2 separate regions of the Homo sapiens genome follow, and region 2 is linked to region 1. The links are contacts of gene promoters, found by promoter capture Hi-C in blood cells and fetal thymus (Javierre and others, 2016). All regions are on one chromosome and are shown on one strand. Each heading gives the region's core, a stretch centred on a gene start or on the middle of the fragment in contact. The rest is flanking DNA. Distances are from core to core; before and after follow the strand shown. Region 1 holds the start of PLAT (plasminogen activator, tissue type). Region 2 has its middle 110 kb from the start of ANK1.

Region 1 (5,149 bases), core at 2,366-4,865:
GTCAGACCTTGTCTCTAAATTATATATATATATATATATATATACACACACACACACACACACACACACACACACACACATACAAACACATATTGCTAAGAGAATGTGCTGTCTTTTTATGTAAGTAGAAAACTGAGCCACTATCGGAAGACCATGTGGCTTGACTTAGGGTTGGAGCAGGGTGGATGAGCTTTAAATTTATTTCTAGCTCTAATTTTCTTTGAGTCTAAATCATCCTCACTCTTTTACCTGGTTTGATGTGAGACCCACCATATGGTTTTGTGAGCTGCTTGACTAGGACGAGGTTTATAGCCTGACACTATAGACAGACATTTTCTCCCGTATATACAAAAGAAATGGCCCCAAGAAGGAATGAGCAGAATGCACTGGTCCCTTATTGTCCGTCCCAACAATCTCATCAAAGCAGAAGCGAAAATCACTCAGAGAAAGTAAAAAATTTATTCTGAGACTGCAGGTGCATAATGCCAAATAATCAAAGAAAAACCTGTCTGGGCATGGTGGCTCACGCCTGTAATCCCAATACTTTGCGAGGCCAAGGCGGGCAGATCACTTGAGGTCAGGTGTTCAAGACCAGCCTGGCCAACATGGTGAAAACTTAGCTGGGTGTGGTGGCGGGCGCCTGTAATCCAAGCTATTTGGGAGGCTGAGGCAGGAAAATCGCTTGAACCTGGGAGGTGGAGGTTGCAGTGAGCCAAGATTGTGCCACTGCACCCCAGCCTGGTGAAAAAGCGAGACTCCATCTTAAAAAAAAAAAAAAAGAAAAGAAAAATTGGCCGGGCATGGTGGCTCATGCCTGTAATCCCAGCACTTTGGAGGAGGAGGGCAGATCACGAGGTCAGGAGTTCGAGACCAGCCTGATCAACATGGTGAAACCCTGTCTCTACTAAAAATATAAAAATTAGCCGGGCGTGGTGGCTTCAAGTGACACTACCAAGGTATGAAAGGAAAATAAATCTCAAGACCCCCAAATCACTAAGCCAAAGGGAAAAGCCAAGCTGGGAACTGCATGAGGCAAACCTGCCTCCCATTTTATTCCTACATAAGACGGCTACAAAGATAAAAGGCTACATACCTCTCTCACAATTTACCCACAAGGAAACTCCTTGTGGACTTCAAGATCTTTACCCTAAAACAGTTCTGCTGAACTTCACCTTGGCAATGCAAATGGGTACAGGACAAAGGACAGAACTCAAAGTCATCCCTCTGCTCACCTGAGACAAACGCATATCTGATTGCTTCCTCTGCCCTATTGTTTTTGTAAAAATGAAGATTCAGGCCAGGCATGTTGGCTCATGCCTGTAATCCCAGCACTTCGGGGGGCCGAGGTGGGTGGATCACCTGAGGTCACGAGTTCAAGACCAGTCTGGCCAACATGGTGAAACCCTGTCTCTACTAAAAATACAAAAATTAACCAGGTGTGGTGGCAGGCGCCTGTAATCCCAGTTACTCAGAAGGCTGAGGCAGGAGAATCACTTGAACCTGGGAGGTGGAGGTTGCAGTAGCCGGGATCATGCCATTGCACTCTAGCCTGGGCAAAAAGAGTGAAACTCCGTCTCAAAAAAAAAAGTAGATTCACTGAGCCAACTAAGGCATAAGTGACTCTTCCTCTGCCCCCCTCTCATATGTAAATTGTGTATTCAGTGAAAGGCTGACAAAGACTCAGAAGAATGAAGCCTTCTCTTATCTACCTATGACCTGGAAGCCCCTACTTCGAGTTGTCCTGCCTTTCCAGACCGAACCGGTGCACATCTTACATACATTGATTAATGTCTCATGTCTCCCTGAAATGTATGAAACCAAGCCATACCTTGGCCACCTTGGACATATGTCCTCAGGATCTCCAGAGGCCGTGTCACATGTGTGTTCTTAACATTGGCAAAATAAACTTTCTAAATTGACAGACCTGTCTCAGATACTTTTGGGTTCACAAAGGAGTGCCTGACTGTTTTTTGGAATCCTTTGAAATCTACTGGCCGCTGGCTCTGCTCAGCAACGTCAGGCCCTGGGGGAAATCAAAGCCTCAGTGAACTCAAAAACCAACAAAGGGGAACTGCTATTCCCAGCTATTCCCTGGCTGCCTGGACTGTCCCAGGCCTGTGATGAAGCAGGGGGAGCCGCAGACACTGGGAGAATCCGACGCGAGTCATTGTGAAATAAACCAAGCTGGTCTTGGGGAGTCGGGCAGAGAAGGAGCATTTTGGAGACAAGGGCAGCTTTCATTTGCTCCTGAGATTTTGATCTGGGGCTTTATCATTTGATCCAGAGCTTGGAGGCTTGCATCTTTGAGAACATTTTAGGTGGAATAAATGGGTGGGCAGGATGGAGCTATTCATATCTCAATACTCACAGTGTCCCTGCCAGTGCTGGAGTCCGACTCTGCCTGCACAGGAAGCACGCACCCAGCAGCTCATGCTGACCGTCATGGATTGAGTCTAGATCCCAGAATGAGCGTTCTTGCCACAGCAAGTACTGCTAGGAAGTCACCTTTGAGGGGACTCCACCTGACAATGGTATTTGCAAGACCCCTTCCCGGGACTGCAATGCACACGCATACACACACACACGACATTTTTTCTGTCATCAAGCAGCTACAGGAGACCACCATATTATTCCCAATTGGCCACCAAACACATCCTTGTTACCACACTTCTTTGAGCTTGAGTTGTCATTAGTTACCTGGGACCTCGGCGTGTTTTCGTCTTCCCTCCCTCCCTTCCTCTCTCCCTCCCTGTGAGGTTAAGAAAATAAAGATAATAACAGTGAAAATCTGGAGAACCCCACATGCTTCCTGCAGAGTGCTTTAGGAATAAAAGACATTAATGTCAGTTTTTTCCCCTGTAATTAAAATGTCCTTTAAGGAGGACTGCACACTTGACTGATGCACCCTGGGCAAAAAGCCAGAGGGCCAAACTGACCTGTGGAGACTTGTAGGGGTGGCACCTAGGGAGATCAGAGGCATTTCTCTATCCCACGGGGTAATGTGGGGTGTGAAAGCCACCTGCTTCTCTCTCCCAGCACCTAGCAAATAGTGCTCTGGAAGTAAGTCCCCCTCTGCCCCATCCACAGCCTCAGTTCCTTTCTGGGGGTTCATCGGGGGAGGGAGGAAACTAGGGGACCCAGCGGGCCCTCCCAGCTGTCACAGGCACGTGTCCCAAGGCAGCCGATTTTGCTTTTATTGCTTGCTCGTCTTGAGGTACTCCCATAGGCTATTTGGGGCTTTTCTGTATCGTTCTTTTCACTTTCCCCTTTACTCTGTCAGCAGAGGCTTCTCCAATGAATGCAACCTCCCTAGTCTCCCTTTCCCCGACTGCCTCTCCCCTCCAAAACACTCCAGCCTATCCCAATCACATGCAAATGCAAACAGACATCTCCCCTCTGGAGTGGATTCTAGCGGATCCTCTAGTTGCCTGAATTACAAAGTTGGTCCCTTGGTTAAAGCATTCCTTCACTGGCTCAGCTTGCTGGAAAGACTTTTAAGAGAAAGAAGAGGAGACAGACCCCAAGGTACAGAAACCCGACCTACCACGGCTTGCTCCTTCCCTTTCCTCGCAGAGGTTTTCTCTCCAGCCCTGGACTCCTGTAGGATCTCAGCTCTGAGCTCCCCACAGCTCCGGCCTCCTTTAAGTTTCCAGGCAGGGGGTGGGGTCGGTGGCCCCGGCTGGGCGGGTTTCTGTGTGGCGGGAGGATGCTCAGTGGACAGGGCCATGAGGGAGCTGAGGCAGGCCTGTTTTTATAAAGCAGGGGGAGGAAGTTCACGGTGGAAGCAGCACAGCCCATCCTGGCTTCGGGCCAGGCTGATTATTCACAGCCGTGATGTCATTGAATCGCAGGAATTTGGAAGTGGGATGGGACCTTAAGAATCATCTTCCTTTAGAGTCCTAGTGTCCCAGGCTTAAAAGGGACTTTCAGGACCCTGTGATGACAAGAAGTGTTTATAATTCTAAAGGCAGCAGGTTGGGGCTGGGAGTGGGGTGTCTTCTGGAATCTGTGGCTGTAGCTCTGGCCTCTCAGGACATGAGAGGTTAAAAGGACTGGAGGATGCACAAGGATTGGAACACTTTGTGTGGTGGCGGGAGCTCAGGGGGGTAGCCACTGAGAAGGCAGGACCAGCCTTGGGCTCACCTGCGGTAGGAGGTGCCCCCATGGGGGTTTGCTCCGGTAGGCATCTTTGGCCCTGTTCTGTAATTTTAGGGAGAATCTTTCTCTTCTTTGTAAAGTGCAGGGCTGCAGTAGGTGGCCTCCGGGGACTTTCCGGCTCCAGCATCCCCTTGAGTGGGCCCAGGGAATATACACAGGGCCTTGGGGCCAACATGCCTGAAATTCGATCAAAGCCATCAGCCCTTAAGCCCACCGAAGCCTTTCAGTATTTGCTTGTAAAATGCCCCTGGAAATAGACAAGCCATTTCCCTTGCTGACACCTTTTCAGATGACTGAGAAATAAAAGCCCTGTCGTGTAGGGGAAAGTCTTAGGTTTAAATCCGGCTGTGCCAGTAACTGGGATATGACCTCAATCAAGATTTTCAACTATGCTGAGCTCTGGCTTTTGCATCTGCAGGTCACGTGAGGATCAGAGAGAAGCCACGCATGTCAGGGCCCTGGCACATCACAGGGCTCAGCAGGAGCATCTATCATCATTGGTTCATGTCTGGCTGAGACCAGACCTTGTAAAAATGAGAGAGAGGTGAAAGAAAGAACGCAGGGAGGGAAGAGAAGTTTGGCAGAGGAAATTGTGGGATGACCGACTATTCAGGAGAGGCCAGATTTCATACATTCTGATCCTAAATATACTCATATTTGTCAAACCATGAGTGCTGAGTTTGAAGTTGAAAGGCACCTAACTGCTTTTCACATTGCTTTCAAACTGTTTTTCACATTTTTATGAAGCTGCAGCCCTGCTGATGGTCATTGTAGAAAAGGGGCACTGGGGTGGGTTGCCTGCTGAGCACGGGAGGTAGACCTCCCATGAGCAGCAGCAGCTGTGGGCCTGTCTGGTGGGCATGGGGCTGCTTTCCTGCAATGTGGTCTAAGATGGTGAGGATGGAGGCTTTTTTGGGGGGTGGGGCATTGCCGTTCAGCAGGGAGTGCTGGTCATGAGGACTCTCATTTGAACTCTTGAGAGGATGGTTTT
Region 2 (4,893 bases), core at 1,320-3,819, 300 kb before region 1:
TTGGGAGCCACATAATCCGGCACACACCCACAAAGGGGGTCACTACCCCATGGGTGAGGACAGTTGGTCACTCAGCATGCAGGGAAGTGGTGTGGGGAGTGAGTCCGAACTCTAGCACAGGAGACAGCCCCAGTTCTTCATTTTTTTATATAGGGATGCTTATTACTCAAGGAAATTCTGTATTTCAGTGGGGCCTTTTTATTTAGCTGCTAAGTGAAGGGGAATGGAGTCCATTTTTATATCTTTGCTGCTTTCTTCCCTAAGATTTCCATCTGGTTCCCAGTCCCATCCTGAGTGTATGCATTTATGCAACTAGACCAACTTGTGTTTTTAAAAGAAACATTATTAATAATTAATAAAGCTTCCCAAGATAAAAGCTGCCTCTTGAACTAAATAATATAAATAGCTAAAACATAATGAGAGCACTGGGCATTCTTCTAAGCGTATTTAACCCTAAGAACAACTCCATGAGGCAGATGCCATTGTCATCACCATTTTACAGTTAAGAAACTGAGGCACAGAGAGAATGAATAACTTGATCAAGATCAATGGCTACTAAGCCATGGACCTCAGATTTGAAACAAAACAGTCAATCTTTAGAGACTGTACTTTTACTGCTACTTAGGACAAACATCCTAAATTGAGCGTGGGCCTGGAAGGTTCTGTCCATGTACCATTAATCCCTTTTAGGAAAGAAGGAGCCAACCAGTGTCTACCAGTCCTGACTCCTCTGAGGGCAGATGGCTGTGGGGTCTCAGCCATCCAGTCCAGTGCCATACCCTATAGGTGTTCAGGTCAAGTTTGATTCAGAAGAGGTTATCCAGGAGCCACGAATATAGAGGATAAAACAGAAAGACAAATGGAAAATTAGAATTGCAGAGTGAGAAGGAACTGCCTGGCATTTCCCAACCAATGGGAGGCTTCTTCTGCTCACTCTCACATTCCCAGACCAGATCACTCCGCAGGAGAGCTGCTGTCCGTTTCCCACTGGGTTCAAGCCGTCTCCCCGGGTGTGTGCACACCAGCCCTGCTCTGCCATCCAGCGCTACTACACTGAAATTATTCAAGCCCTGCTTCTGTGTGATAGCCCTTCAAATATTTGAGGAGAGCTTTCACTCCTCCCTATGCTTGACCAAGATAATGTCAGGAGTTCATAGTAAAGGTGAATATTGAGCTCACAGATTCCTAATTTCCTGTCCAAGGTTTACCGATGACAGCAATCTGTCCTTTTCATAATTGCATTTTCCAGGGTGGAATTTGAAGAGATAAAAGAGCCTATAAGTCAAGGTGTTCAGAGAAAACAGCAAAGCAGGAAGAGGATTTACATCCAGATTCGTAGAAAATGCTGGAGTAAGGCTGGGCGTGGTGGCTCCTGCCTCTAATCCCAGCATTTTGAGAGGCCGAGGCGGGTGGATCACCTAAGGTCAGGAGTTTGAGACCAGCCTGACTAACATCGTGAAACCCCATCTCTACTAAAAAAATACAAAAATTAGCTGGGTGTGATGGTGCATGCCTGTAATCCCAGCTACTTGGGAGGCTGAGGCAGGAGAATCGCTTGAACCCAGGAGGCAGAGGTTGCGATGATCCAAGATGGTACCACTGCGCTCCAGCCTGGGTGACAGACAGAGACTCTGTCTCAAAAAAAAAAAAAAAAAGAATGAGAGAGAAGGAAGGGAGAGGAGGGGAGGGGAGGGGAGAGGAGGGGAGGGGAGAGGAGGGGAGAGGAGGGGAGAGGAGGGGAGGGGAGGGGAGGGGAAGGGAGGGGAGGGGAGGGGAGGGGACGCTGACTTGAAAGTTCAGCGTTGGCTGGCTGGGTCCTCAGGCCTGCGTGTGGGTGAGGCCCCTACTGCTCCCTCCTCTGCACTCTCCCACCCAAGGTGGCCACCACCTCACTCCTCCGTGGTGACAGTGCCTTCCACTCCGGAGGGGAAATGGAAACCCTGGGCTGCATGTGCTCAGTGCCCTCCCTTCTGCACCATTGAAATGTGTCTGCATCCACCCCTTGTTGACGTCTTTGGACCCCACTCCTTCTCACCTCCTCAGAAAAACCGGGCTGCCAGAGAGCTCTGCTCTCACTGCGTCCCCATGGTGTGCCTGTCACCAGCTCCTCCAGCCTGTTACTTCCGGGTGCAGCCCTACTGCACTCCAAATTCTCTTGCCACCACGGAACCTACGGACGCACTTGGATCTGACTCCCTGGACCTTTTGACCTGGTGGTGTATCTCCCCGGTTCCTGAGACCCCACTCTCCCTGCTCTCCTCCCAGCTCCTGAATGCTTTCTACAGGACTCACTAATAAAAACTTCTGCCTGGGCTCTTTTTCAGTTTATACCTTCTTCCTCTATGATCTTAGCCTTGGCTTCCACTACCACCCACATGCCTGGATCTATAACTCCAGCTTTGACCTCTCTCAGAAGACTGAGGCAAGAAGTCTGCCCAGTGTACCATCAGAAGTCACCTCCTGGCTCCTCAATCCCCAGTTAACCCAGGCAGAAACCTGGGCTTCCCAGAGAGCCCCCCTTCCTCTCCTTTACAGCCCCCAGTCTTCTTACTCACTAGATTTCAGAGGCTTTCTTCAAAACCAGTTCTCAAATTTGCACATGCACTCACATCACCTAAGGATCTTATGAAAATTCGGACTCTGATTCAACTGCTATGGATAGATTGCAGCCACGGCTCATGGTCCTCTCCCCTGCGTGTATACTATTTATTTATTTTAATTTAATTTAATTAATTTCTTTTTTAGATGGAGTCTTGCTCTGTTGCCCAGGCTGGAGTGCAGTGGCTCAATCTTTGCTCACTGCAACCTCTGCCTTCTGGGTTCAAGCGATTCTTCTGCCTCAGCCTCCCCAGTAGCTGGGATTACAGGTACCCACCATCACACTGGACTAATTTTTGTATTTTTAGTAGAGATGGAGTTTCACCATGTTGGCCAGGTTGGTCTTGAGCTCCTGACCTCAGGTGATCTGCCTGCCTCAGCTCCCAAAGTGCTGGGATTACATGCGTGAGCCACCATACCCAGCCCATGTATACAATTTACACACGTGCCTCTGTGAGCACCCCCAGCCCAAGCCCACATTTCCAGCTCCCCATGTGCTCTCTCTTACCTCCCCTGTCAGTGCCCCTCCAAAAAAGGCAACCTTTTTTGGTTTTGACCTTTAGCACACTGGCAACCAGCCCATCCTGATGCCATCCAGAGCCCACCAAGAGTCACCTCATTAGAACAAAAGATGCTCCGATCACCTAGGAACTCCCAAGGGATTAGGAGCTCTGTGTCAGGAACCAGGGTCAAAGGGCAAATATTAGAACAAAAGATTCTTCCAGCACCCCTTTCTACAGCAGTATTAGGAGCTGTATGTCAGAAACCAGAGCCAGATAACAATGTACATATTTCTTATTATTTCGCAGTGGTATTTTCCTAATCCCACTCCACCCATGAGCTCCTCCACATTCCCTTTCCATGCCAGTTTCCTTCCAGTCGCTTCTGAGGGACGTCCCTCCCCACCAGGGTGAGTCTGCAGGCCCGGCCTTACATAGAGCCATCATTGGTGCCTAAGTCCCATCTTCCAAGCCACGTGTCTGTGCTGCACATGGACACTGGCGTCCACCGGCTCACCTCAGACATCACTCCCCTCTCGCTCCACGGCCACTGCCCCTCCCCCGGGCCCTCCACTGTTGTCCCCTGGGCTTTGGCTGTCACCCACTGAAACCGTGCCCCAGAGCTTAGAAAAAAAAACCTAATGACTAATAGAAATGCTTGAGTTTTCAGGATAGCAGATAAGAAAAGACAACTTCCGGAAACACTGAAACTCCCTCTGCTTATGAGATTTTAAAACCGGCTGCAATTGGTTGGAACCAATATGGCCAACTAAGTCTGCACAGAGCCCGCCTGCTAATTGTCATAGCCTGAATTTCTACTGCATATGTCACACTAACTTCCCCAGAATTTGCACATGGGACCCATGAGGAGGCATGAAGAGACAACTGCACGGGTGCAAGAACTTTCCAGACCTCCTTTTTCAAAACTCCACCAATCACCTACTAATCCCAGAATCCACTCCTAAACCTTTTCTAATAAAATTCCTGCCTTAAAGCCAGCACAGGGAGACAGATGTGAGCTGGACTCCTGTCTCCTTGTTAGCCCACCAGCAATCAAAACTTTCTTTTCTCAAAAGCCCAGTGTCAGAGCACTGGCTTCTTGCACGTTGGGCTGAGAGTCTCCTTTGTTTGGTAACCCCATCAGCCAAACCCCCTGTCTCTGTGTGTCACTGTAGGGCGGCCGCCTCACCTCCTAAACCTCCCCACACACCTCACCCCTTGCTGTGGCAGCCTGTCAGGGAGTCGGGGGGAGGACAACGGAGATGTCTCCCAGGCGTGGAGGCTGGAAGTCAAGGTCAAGGTCACTCCTCACCACTGCAAGGGAGCATCTGTCCCAGGCCTCCCTGCTTGCTCCTCATGGCTCAGGTGCTCCTTGGCTTGGAGATGGAAGCCTGTGTCTTCTCCCTGCATCTCCCCATCAGATTCCCTTGATGCGTCTGTCCCTGTGTCCAAATGTCCCCTTAAAAGGACACCAGTCACATTGGATGAAGGCCCACATTAATGACATCTCAATTTGATCAACAAAGACACTTTTTCCAAATTATATGTTACACACCGAGTTAAGTGACTGGTTCCAAGGTGATGGTCTCAGGTTCTGGGAGTTGGGACTGTAGCATTTTTGGGAGGGCCACAATTCAACCCCTCACGCTCTCTTCTCCCCTGAATTAAGCCTTCAGCAACAAGCTTCCTCTCCCCGCCAATAGAGTAAAGAGTCCCTGGGGTGGGTGTCGAGGCTCCTGGCTCAGCCCCTCCCTGGCTTCTAGTCTCATCCCCCGATGCCCTCATGCCAGCCGGG

The links. The method cuts DNA at HindIII sites, captures the fragments that hold promoters and counts their contacts. A CHiCAGO score of 5 or more calls a contact.
Region 2: a contact is called between a fragment that was not itself captured here and the fragment with the promoter of PLAT in region 1, in 1 of 17 cell types (neutrophils). The highest score is 5.0, in neutrophils.

The regions. Positions count from the first base shown.
Region 1 is chr8:42,203,950-42,209,098 of GRCh38, forward strand. PLAT (plasminogen activator, tissue type) reads right to left here and starts at 3,616. Exons shown (of 14, transcript NM_000930.5): 1 at 3,545-3,616. RefSeq lists enhancers at 4,117-4,635, 4,636-5,149. The HindIII fragment of the contact is 29,641 bases long and covers 1-5,149 here.
Region 2 is chr8:41,901,663-41,906,555 of GRCh38, forward strand. No RefSeq gene overlaps it. Among named protein-coding and RNA genes, the nearest start is that of ANK1, 110 kb to the left of the region's middle. RefSeq lists a silencer at 67-253. The HindIII fragment of the contact is 4,420 bases long and covers 360-4,779 here.